3 separate regions of the Homo sapiens genome follow, and all the other regions are linked to region 3. Evidence: promoter capture Hi-C in human tissues and cell types (Jung and others, 2019). All regions are on one chromosome and are shown on one strand. The core of a region is centred on a gene start or on the middle of the fragment in contact, and the rest is flanking DNA. Distances in the headings are between cores, read along the strand shown.

What was found. Contacts are between HindIII fragments. The study calls those that stand out against the background at their distance.
Region 1: a contact is called between a fragment that was not itself captured here and the fragment with the promoter of ENAH in region 3, in 1 of the 25 tissues and cell types used here (aorta).
Region 2: a contact is called between the fragment with the promoter of TMEM63A here and the fragment with the promoter of ENAH in region 3, in 2 of the 25 tissues and cell types used here (heart left ventricle and psoas muscle).

Annotation. Positions count from the first base shown.
Region 1 is chr1:225,509,940-225,513,806 of GRCh38, forward strand. It overlaps ENAH (ENAH actin regulator), which reads right to left. Exons shown (of 14, transcript NM_018212.6): 8 at 2,932-3,077; 9 at 2,718-2,775; 10 at 1,872-1,920. Among named protein-coding and RNA genes, the nearest start is that of LINC02765, 44 kb to the left of the region's middle. The HindIII fragment of the contact is 3,476 bases long and covers 1-3,462 here.
Region 2 is chr1:225,880,805-225,884,715 of GRCh38, forward strand. TMEM63A (transmembrane protein 63A) reads right to left here and starts at 1,576. Exons shown (of 25, transcript NM_014698.3): 1 at 1,500-1,576. RefSeq lists enhancers at 1-132, 2,335-2,384, 2,445-2,494 and silencers at 985-1,104, 1,665-1,824. The HindIII fragment of the contact is 9,047 bases long and covers 1-3,174 here.
Region 3 is chr1:225,650,806-225,654,777 of GRCh38, forward strand. ENAH (ENAH actin regulator) reads right to left here and starts at 2,318. Exons shown (of 14, transcript NM_018212.6): 1 at 1,881-2,318. The coding sequence starts at 1,885. RefSeq lists a silencer at 2,168-2,297. The HindIII fragment of the contact is 16,817 bases long and covers 1-3,972 here.

The DNA of each region.
Region 1 (3,867 bases), core at 475-2,974, 140 kb before region 3:
GTCACTTTTCCCTACAAAGTTGACTCAGGTGACTCGTATGTGTCATTTCCTCCCTCTGTGACACACTACTTAGTATTCAACAAGTGGTTGTAAAAAGGTTAACTTCACACCTGTGTGTCTCATCTTCCCAGCTGTACCATGAGTTTTTTTGGGCTTAGGACCTGTACCTTTCACTTCAGGTGCCTGACACAATGTCAGTTTAAAAACGGAATGAAACAAGTGAGAAAACAGGCCCTGCCCTTTTTGATTTTATATATATGACACACACACAAAACCTGTGCCTTAGTTTTTCATATTTTATATAAGGGATTATATATTAGATAAGGAATTTTTAACTTGGAGTCCATGGATAACCTTCAAGAAATTCATGAATATTCTGAAATTATGAACAAATCTGAATAAAAATACAATTTTCCTCCCTGGAAAGAGGATCTATAGCTCTCATCATATTCTAAAGGTTCTGTGAGCCCAAAATATGGTTCGGATTTACAACATCTATGCGGTACTAATGAGAGTACATACAATTAATTTTGGCTTACAGAAAGAAGGATAAAGCTAAAATAAGTGGGTCACAAACCAGTGAATTTTTAATGAAAATAACAAACTGAGTCCTATTCAGAGGGAAAACAAAGCCATGATGTTAATTATGGTATAGCAATCAACCTACTGAAGAGTCACCATTTAATAATAAGAATGAGGAATGGGGGGAGTGGTGAAAAGATGGATTACAATCACAAAAACAAAAACTTCAGAGGTACTTAAAAAAAAAAAAAAAAAAAAAGGAATTCTAGGTGGTGCACTGTGGCTCACGCCTGTAATCCTAGCACTTTGGAAGACTGAGACAGGTGGATCACTTGAGCTCAGGAGTTTGAGACCAGCCTGGGCAACATGGTGAAACCCTGTCTCTACCAAAAATCCAAACAATTAGCCAGGAGTGGTGCCATGTGCCTGTGGCCCCAGCTACTTAGGGGGCTGGGGGGCTAAGGTGGGAGGATCACTTGAGCCCAGGAGGTGGGGGTTGCGGTGAGCCAAGACTGCACCACTGCACTCCAGCCTGGGCAACAGAGCAAGACCCCATCTCAAAAAAATTAAAAAAATGAAAATTAAAAAGGGAACTGTAGATGCAGCTGGTTGTCTTTAAATCAAAACTGTAGGAATATAAGCATTTCTCTATAATGGTTTCTTATGGACCACTCTAGATATTAACTCATCAAGTTTATTTATGTCATTTCATTCCAGAATAGATAAGGAGTTCAATAGATAGTCCAGCCCTTAGTCTTTAATCAAATATGAAGAAATAACATGTGAATATGTAATGAGTTCGTATTCTCATCTTGGATACAGTACTCATCAAGTACTTCTAGTGAAATATACTTTTGTTAATATTCTAGGTGATTTATCAGATGCTCAAGAATTCTCAATGTCAGAAATTTCACTGAATTCAAGAACACTTCCCCAAAATTTTAAGGAGACTTTTTAAGTTTACAAATCAGAAACTTTATTCCCTTAATTATCAATATCACCCAAATGAATGGCTAGGACATCCTTCTCAATTTGAGAATGTTCTGAAGCAGACTGTAGTACTAACTAACATGCTCACTTTATTTTTACCTCTAGAAAAACAATTATGAAAAATACTCTTGTCATCTAATAGTACATTAATATTTTCCTTGTTTTAGTAAGTAACCTCAAGAAAGTAACAGCAGCTTCCAGGAGGAAAAAAGTGAATGCTTTCAGGTGGGAACAAAGAACTCTGGCATTTTAGTGTCCAGTCACTTGGTCCAAATATGGGGAAAGGGGGAATTTTTAACTGGGGAGTATTAATATTTAGAGAAAGTTTATAAAGGTTAAAATATTTATCTTGAACTTACCAGGTGTACTTGTTGAAGAGGCCTTAGAAGTTACAGGCTCTGAATCTTCCTAAATATACAGATATATATTAATATCACATCTACCAGTCCCCTGTTGCTATATACATTTAGTGTTTTACACGAACACTTCTAATATTCTTTCTGCCACTCCCCACTTTCTCTTTCATCGGTCTTCTCTCCCTTTCATTTCAGCTTAGACTTTCTTCTCCTGTCTTCAACCATCTTCCCTTCAACCCTCCCCACAGCTCCTTTCCTCATGTGTTCTCCTTGAGAACTTTCACTAGCCAATGCTACAAAGCCAGACACGAGAGACAGATTTGAGGAATGGCATCTAAGGTGGCCAGATGGAGCAGGGGGAACATATTATTTGTTGCACACCAATATACAGCACAGACAAAGCAGAGTTTGCCCAGCTGAATCAGGGAGGAGGGCATGAAGGTTACACTCTGAAGGGGCACAGCCAATAACCATCAAGCTCCTAAGGGAAACATATGAATTTAGGCGAATTCCTTCCTTTTAAATTAATGCAAGGGAACTGAGATTCTAAGAGATGAAAAAAGTAGTGAAATGTCATTCACTCATTTAAGGAACAGAATTAAACTCCACAGGTTTGAACTTCAATGCTTTTCCCATAATTTCACATATTCAACTCACTTTACTAAGACTGCCATTAAAAATTTATAAATAACAGTCAAAACAAGCCACTTCACATGCATAGTTAAAAATTAGCAAATATAAGTTCAAACTAATTAAGCCCAAATTAAATAAATGCTGACACTATTTCCTGAATGAGCTGTGCCTGAATTCCATATTTTAAGGTATGGTAGACTATCTTTATTAACTTACACCTTTGTCCTCTTTTTGTTCTGTTTCTATTGTTGATCCCTTTTCAGCAATTCTTCTCCTACAAAGAAGGCAAATCCGATTTTTAAAAATATTATCTGATTCAGTATAAAAACCACTTCTCTACGAGGAAAGAAGTGCATCTAGTTAGTTGTATTTGGAATACAATTAAAATCCTCTCAATTCTGGGCATGTCCATTATAATGAAATTCCTTACCTCCTGGCCAGCAGGGCACTCATTTCTTCCATTAAACCACTACCCCCTAAAGGAAGGGGTCCATTTCCACGGCCTGTATCTGTTTTAGATGAGGCGGAGTTCACACCAATAGCATTCCCTCCACTTGGGAAAGAGGTATCCTCCATCTTAATGAGAATATACAGACATAATCAACTCCTATGTTAGACAACCATATTTTTATTAATATATTACATCTAAAACAGAAGGAAACATCAGCATTAATTTTAAAAAACCTAAATATTATTTTTTAAGCTTTAAGAACCAATAGATTCTTAGCATGACTTTATATATCAACAAGAGTTTATCAAAACTACTATCACCAAGAATGCAATGAAACAGTATCATGTATCTCTTCCTGTGCTGCCATGAAAAGGGCATGACTTTGCTCTGATAATATTCCTGCTAAAACAACCCCTGCATAACTAGAATCTAATCTTGAGGAAAAATCAGATAAGCCAAAGTGAAGGATAACAGGCAAAATAATTGTCCTACAGTCTTCAAAAATGCCAGTATTATGAAAGATTGAGGAACTGTCATAAAGTATATCAAAGAGACATTATAACTAAATGCAATAAATGATCTTGCACTAGGAAAAAAACTGTCACTAAAGATGTCATTGGACTATAGATGAAATTTGAATAATACATTTGTAGATTACAGTATTCTATCATGTTAACTTTCCTGATTTTGATAATTATATTACTGGTTATGCAGGTAAATGTCCTTGTTCTTATAAAATTCACACTGAGGTACTTAGGAAAATAGAAGCTTGTGTCTCTGAGTTACTCTCAAATCATTCAAACAAAAGTGCATGTGTAGGCCGGGTGCGATGGCTCACACCTGTAATCCCGGCACTGTGGGAGGCTGAGGCGGGTGGATCACCTGAGGTCAGGATTTCAAGACCAGTCTGGTCAA
Region 2 (3,911 bases), core at 326-2,825, 230 kb after region 3:
CTATGCTAATCCACTGCCAGTCTCCATTGGCAGCAAGGACTGGCCTGGTGGTCAACTTGACAAGCTCTAGAAATACCAGCAGAATGTTGCAGGAAGTATATGGATATTGTTCGTTCTTGCAAGAAGGCCCGTACAAATTCAGGGTAATTTTATCATCACCAAATCTTTCAATCCTGTGATGACAATAGCGAAACTACAAGCAGCTCCAGGCCTTCTGCCTCAGGAGCTAACTCTGGTCTTTCAGATGCAGAATAAGGTTGCAAAGTAAAGTACAAACTTCTCCTTATGGCAACACCAAACAGGACCCAGTAACCTGGACAACTGTTTACCTCCTACCCTGGAGCACAAAGGAAATGACACAGCCCCTGGCTGAAACCAGAGGCAGTGTGGCTCAGGGATTATGTGAGCAGGCTCTGGAGTTAGGGTCTCAGCACCACGCAGTTCAGACAAGCAGCCTAACCACTCTGTGCCTTGGCTTCCTTCGCCAGGAAATGCGAGTGATGACTTTCTCTCACGGAGCTGTTGGGAGGCACAGATCCCAAACAACACCTGTAAAGCACTTAGCCCAGGACCCGGCCCTAGCAAGCAATTAGAAGCTGTCTGCCTTTATTTTAAGTCGCCCCTCCAGCTAATGGGAAACACAAGGGCAGGATCCCACCTGACGTCTTCTCTGTTAGAGCCCAACGAACAGCTAGGAGAGACCTTTGCCCCCACACTAAACAAAGGAGAGGGGCGTGTGAAGGGAAAAGGAGCCTCGGCTTCCGTTCATATCCCCCTTGAAGGCACAGCAGACTTGAGGATGACCTGAGAGGTGTCAAGGGAGGGTCAGTGGGTCCGCCACGCTGTCCACCCCTGCCCTTGAAGAGGACACCACCTGCCTGGGGCTGAATGACCAAGGCCCCTCCAGGGCCTCAGGTAGCTAGTCTTATCAGGTGCTGGAACCTTTGCGGATTTGGTTTCTTAGCAGAGCTCGCCTCACCCTTTCCGCCCCCGCCCTTCCCCCCAGTCCCCGAGTCCCCAGCCTCCCTCCTCAGGACTCCGCCAAGGCTGCAGGAAGTGGTCACCCAGGAACAGCCCGAGGGGTGGCCTCTGCCTTCCTGGCGTCAGGAGAGTCGGACGCTTGGCCCTTTCCCAGCCCGGCCTCGTATAGGGTCCGAGGAGCCCATAGCTGCACTCCTAGTTAGGTGGGAGGTCGGACTCCGCCGACAAATCCCAAAGAGAGGGGTGGGGAAGAAGGAGATACCAGCCCTGAAAGCGAAAAGCCGGAGAGGAAAGTCCTGAAAAGCCGCCAGGAATTCCCAAGGAGCGCAGGGCTGGAATGGAGGCGCTGCCCGGACCCTCTCCTCCCACCCAATCCCGCGTCGTCACCCCCTGCTTGGGGTCGGGGGCTCTGGGGTCTGCGTAGGCTGGGAGCCGTTCCGGAACCGGACACCTGGCGCGCACGTCCCGGGAAAGGCGGAGGGTGCATTGCCCCTCCTCACGCCCCCTGTCCCCTGTACCTGCGGCGGCGGCGTGTCTGGCGGGACCCAGCAGCGCGGGGCGTGTTCCGACCACTTAAAAGTTACAAAGTGAAACTCCGGCGCCTCCTGCACATGCGCAGAGCTGCGGCCACCCCTTTCCCAATTTGGAGTCTTGGCCCGCGGCGGCGCAAGCCTGTACGCAGCTGACTGCGCCTCCCGCGGTGGCCCTCGGCGGTCCTCTGCCCCGGCCTGGCCTCCTGGTCGCCGCTCAGCCCCGCAGCTCCTCCCGGAGGTCTGCAAGCCCCGGACCGGCCAGCTCACGTCCAGGCTCCAAGAAGGGATCCGCCGGGGCGCACCCTCTTCCGTCCCCCGGCACGAGCCCAGTCTCTGGACGCCTCCGGGAGAACTGGGCCAAGCACAGGGTGGTCGCGGCGCAGGGAGAGCATCTGCAAACGTTGGTCCCTGTAGTGCTTTGAATTTCCCCGAAGAGCTCTTAGACCCGCCCCGGGAGAGTGGGGTTGCGGGGGTGGTAGCATGGGGAGCTCAGCAGGATTCAGCCCGCACCTCGGCTCCGGGTAGTCGGGAACCGCGCGGAGCGCCCTGCAAGAGGCCACGGCTCCCCCGCCGCTGTAGAAGGCCGGACCGTGAAAGCCCGGAGGGTCTCCGTTCGGGCAAAAATGTGGGGGCGGGTCGCAGCATTTCCAACGCCCCCTGGGGCTAGTCCATTACTGCTCGAGCCAGGGCCGCCAAGGGCACCTACTCCAGCCCAGGTCCGAGAGCGCGGCATGCCTCCCGGCCGGGAGCCAAATGTTTCCAGGGAGCCGGTGGCCTCCACAACCGGACCGCAAGCTCGCGAGGGCAGGGCCGGCCCGCCGCGCCAGGGACTGCTGGGCGCTGCGCGGGAAGCGAGGCTGGGTTCGGGGAGGACCGCGCGCCCTGGGAATCAAGGAGCAAACCAACCCGTCCGCAGGCCCCTGTTTCCCTATCTGTGAAATGAGTGGTTGGACCAAAGCTTCCTCTCAGGTCCCTTCCAGCACCCCTCTCTGAGCTCTGAGCAGTCCTCACCCCACATGCATGCCTTTGCAGGTTCTCCGACCTCCCTTCCATTTCTGAGCTTTCATCTTTTTCTGTAACGGCATAAAAATATCCTCCTTATGGCCGGGCGCGGTGGCTCATGCCTGTAATACCAGCACTTTGGGAGGCCGAGGTGGGCGGATCACCTTAGGTCTGGAGTTCGAGACCAGCCTGACCCGCATGGAGAAACCCCGTCTCTACTAAAAATACAAAATTAGCCGGGTGTGGTGGCACATGCCTGTAATCCCAGCTACTAGGGAGTCTGAGGCAGGAGAATCGCTTGAACCTGGGAGGCGGAGGTTGCGGTGAGCTGAGATTTCACCATTGAACTCCAGCCTGGGCAACAAGAGCGAAACTCTGTCTCAAAAAAAAAAAAAAAAAAAAAAAAATTCCTCCTTACCTCCCTGTCCCTGATTCTAGCGCCAGTCTGTGGCTGTCCAGGAGTGGGGTGGGGAGGGTCTCTTCCTGCCTCTCTCAGTTCTTTTCTGTCCCATCTGTCTTTCCCCTTCTCTCCCCAAAGCTCTAGCCACTAGTTATTTTCCAGGGTTTTTCCTCTATGCCCCCCGCCAGTATCATCTCTGCCCTTGTCCCTCCATAGCTGCGCCTGGCCATCCCCCCTCCCTGCTCTCTTACCTCCACATCTGACGGTCTGCAGAGTCCTGGGTGTGGCCCCTGGACTCCCCGTTGGCTCCTTAGACTGTCCCTGTCCAATCTTTCTTCCACTCCCCACTCCCGCACCTGCCTGTCCTCCTTCCTTCCTCAATGAATGGTGCCCCCACCTGTCTGGTCTGTGCCATGGGTCCAGGCAAGTGCAAGGTTCCGGTCTTGGTAATTAGAATGCTGGAGCCACTGACAAAGATTTCAGAGAGAGAAAGGATTTCTAAATTTGTTCTTGAGTAGGTTAAGGTTATTTCAAAATCAAGAGAAGGCCTTGATGGATCGATATGTGAGTTGAGATAGCCACAGCCTTTGTTATGTCAGTTGTGTGAAGTGCTTGTAAAATCACTATTTTATTTTTTAATTTTTAATTAATTATTTACTTATTGAGACACAGTCTCACTCTGTCGCCCAGGCTGTAGTACAGTGGTGTGATCTCAGCTCACTGCAACCTCCACCTCCTGGCTTCAAGCGATTCTCCTGCCTCAGCCTCCCAAGTAGCTGGGATTATAGGCATGTGCCACCACACCCGGCTAATTTTGTACTTTTAGTAGAGACGGGGTTTCTCTATGTTGGTCAGGCTGGTCTCAAACTCCCAACCTCAGGTGATCCTCAGGATTATAGACGTGAGCCACCGCGCCCAGCTGCACAGCTCTTACAGCTATAAATTCCAGATCCTCTGAAGCTTTATTTTCTTCTCTAAGTATAGATGATAATTTT
Region 3 (3,972 bases), core at 1,068-3,567:
CGCCACTGCACTCCAGCCTGGGCAAGAGAGCAAGACTGCATTTAAAAAAAAAAAAAAAAAAAAAAAAAAAAAACTTTCCCTGTTTTATATTTCTCAATGTTAAGATAAGTTTACCCAAAGTTTGAAACAACTGATAACTTCTGGTCTGCAAGATCCCTACGGCATTAGATCTCTAAAACAGAAACCAACAACATATAATATTACAAGATATAACAGTATGTATATTATAGTTCCTGAGTTTAAGGACATCAGTAACTTGATTTAAAAAAAAAGAAGTCATGCTCAAACATACGACTCAAAGTTTTCAAGCCATATTTTACAAAGATTGTGTTTTTTGGTTCGTATGCTATAATTACTATTTAAACTCATCGCTTATATTTGAAAATAACTTGTGTGAAATCATCAAGGGAAAAGGGGTCAGTCGCCTAGAGACACCACATTAAACTCACTCTTTAAGGCCATCATAAATACAGGTAACTTGGAATCAGAAAAAAAAATTCAAATTCACAGTAAGCCTAAGTAAAAATTCAACAAAGATATATCACAATATATATATAAAAGCAAAATGGAAACACGTTTAACCTTGATAGAAAAAAAAAATGAAAAGCAAAGTTTAAAATGGAAACTACCGAAATTGAGAAAGAATTCCAATGACATGACATTTTCTTGCCAAAGCGAAGGAATTTGTAGATTATATCATTCAAATCTCATTGTATTACATTATAAAGGTCTTAGCAACGGTTGGCCATTAATCTTTAACACAAAGGAGATTCAAATCCAAATGAACTGTAAGACTATCTCTTCCAGGAGAGAGAAATGGAGTAATTTACTTTATCCACAATTGTTTAACCCAAAAGGAAGGCCTTTAAGGATGATAACGCAGAATGGATCAGCCTTCAGTCTACCAAGTCCCATTTCACACGAAGTCTTGCACCAATCCGAAAAGAGAAGGTTATGGACACAGAACAGGTTTAGGAAAGGCTGGAAAAAAAATCTCCAATGAATGACACACCACATCACGGTTTATTCTCCTACACAATTTGAGAAACAATAAAGAAAAATATCATACCATATGTTTCATCGTATCAATTAAAAAAATATTTTACGACAGTACATTCAATTCTTCGGGGCCGCAAAAATAATTTAGCTCCTGTTTTATTGAGTACAGAGCAAAGGGAAAAAGCAGCTGCTGCAATGCAACACAGGCTGCTACAGAGAAAGGGGAGAAAAGGCTTTTCCAAACAGATCCCTTCCCCGCCCCCGCTTACACACCCCTACCAACTTACTTATCCCAGTCTTTTACTGCCCCCACCACGTGAACCTAATCAATTCTTTCCCTTCCCCCACCATCGTGAAATTTCACCTTTCACAGCTCCTTCACCTACCCCTACCAGAGGCACTTTATTACCCGCAGAGATTTCAGACCTTTCAAACTTTTCTTCCTTTTTTAATTAAACACGAGAGTTCGGAGGCAAAAGTGCATGAAATTTTTACATATATACGAAAAAATACCTGTTTCCCAGCAACACGCACGCTTCGATTCTCGAACCCCTCCCCATCTCCCGGGTTTCGCTTGCAAAGGCTTGGGGGAGGGAGCCAGGCGCAAATTAAATTTAGGAAGGGAAATCCTGGGTGAAAGAAGAGCATTTGAGGAAAAATGAGAGAACGATGAAGCGAGACCCCCAAACCACACGGGTTGGGGAGGTTTCCAAGAAAGAAAGAGAAATTGGAAGGGACAAAAGGCGGAGGGGGGAGGAACAGACCGGAGACCAGGGGAGACGCGCCGGGCCGGGAGAGGGAAGGCGGGGTCCGAGGAGAACGGGGGTCGCGGCTCCCGCGGCACAATGGCCCGCCCGGCCCCCGCCCCGCGCGCCCCTCACCTCATGGTGCCGGCGGCGCAGAGGCTTCCCCACCAGCCGGGAGACGCAGAAGGCGCCGAGCCGAGGGGGGGGTCTCTCCTCCAGGGGTGGGGAGCAGCTCGGAGACGGGAGACAAGTGTCCGGCTCCTCCTTCGGCGGCCAGGGGGCTACACCATCTCCTCGCACAAAGCCGAGGCGCCGGCCGGGAGTGTGGGAGAAGAGGGCGAGAGAAAGGCTGGGGAGGGGGCGGAGAGGCCGAGGCGCGGAGCTGGTCCCCAGGCGGCCGCCGCCTCCCACCTCCTCGTGGTCCTGCTCCTCCTCCCGGAGCTTCCTCGGCCGCCCTCTGAGGGGTGCCCGCCGGGGCCGCGCGCCCGGCCGCCGCTCCACAGGCCCGCGCTCGCCGCGCCGCCGCCGAGGCCGTGTGCAACCGGCAGCTGCTGCAGCCGCGGGAGGAGAGTCGGGATCGCCGCGAGGAACCCGGGAGGAGGCGGGGCGCGCGGCGGAGGAACACGCAGGCGCCGCCCTCCTCCCCTCCTTCCCCCGGGGGCGAGGGGGCGGTGCGGGGGGAGGGGAGGAAAGGGGAGGCGGGGGGCCGGGCGCACTCCCCCGCGCCGGCGGCCGGGCCCCCGCCGGACTGCGGAGAGCGAGGCTGGGAGAGAGCGAGCGCGACGGCGGCGGCGGCGGAGAGAGGCTCTTTGTTGCCTCCCTACCCCGCCCCCTGCACCCCTCTGGGATTCGGGCGGGCCACCACCCCCCCCTCCCGCCCAACACCTCCGGCCAGTTGTCGGCCGGGGTTCCTCGCCCGTGGTTGTCCTTGACCGTCGGCCCCCTCCCCGTCGCCTCCCGCTCCCCAGAGGCTTGGGGAGCTCCGAGGCCTCCCCCACGGCCACGGTGCGGAGACCGAGGCGCCGAGACCTCCTGGGCGCCAGACCCGTAGGCACCGGCGTGGGGAGCTTGGACGCGTGACTGGGCACAGGGCCGGGCCAGGAGACTCCGGGTCGGCTCGCGGCCGGGTGCCCTCGCGCGGGGCGAGTGCTCAGCCCGCCCTGTTGCGGTCTCAGGACGGGGATGAGGGAATCGGGGGGCATCCCGGTCAGCCCAACTGCCCGCCCTCGCCGCGGCTGCGCCCAGCGATTCCTGCGGAGTTGAGGAGGGGCATATAAATGGAAAATATGGTCATCATTGTTCCCTTCGCTCCTTTTCTTCCCGAGGAATCCCAGCGTGCTGCGCCGATGGAACGAGTTGATGTGCACACTAGGTATAGGGATGACTTCATCCCCAAACGAACGCAGCCGACTCTCGGGGAAACGCAGTCGCCGGGAGACGCGCGCGGAACAGTGTGTTGCCGCAAGAGTGGAAGAAGAGAAACGCAGCCAGTGGAGCCGCTTTCCAGCGTCATTAGCAAAGAGGGAATCCCGGGCAGGGGGCGGGGAGAGAGAGGAACTAATGATAATTTTAAATTTTTCGTCATTCCCAATGGTCTTGAAGTCACCTCCCTTAAAAAGTAGATATAAAATACTGGCGAGGCAATTTCATTTCAAGTCAAGTCGGGGAGGAGGGCATCCAGGAAGCCAGAATTGATCGTTGTTGAAGGTTTTGTTTTCGGTTTTTTTTAAATCTAAAAACAAATCCAATAATAAAATTTTTAACTGTACGAATTACGGCCCCCTTTTAGTCCGGAAGACAGGGATGTACTTTCTGTATAAAAGGTGAGGAGGATAGAAAAGGGTTGTTGCTACAGGGATCCTATTGCTGAAGGATCTCATCCAAAATGGAGGACCTACCATGACTCCAGGAATCCATTCAAAAGTTTTGGTGTTTTGTTTTAAGATGCAGGTACCATTCAAAAGATAGTTAGGAAGGTTGGGATAATGTACACTTCCAAATGAAAAGACAGGTTATAGTGATCCGTGGTCAATGCCTGATTTGTCTATAATTGAACTGTGTAGCCCATTTTTAACCATAAAAAAAGCTTCCTGGTTTCAGCCGGGTGCGGTGGCTCACGCCTGTCATCTCAGCACTTCGGGAGGCTGAGGCAGGCGAATCATCTGAGGTCAGGAGTTCCAGACCAGCCTGGCCAACATGGCGAAACCCTGTCTCTACTAAAAATAAA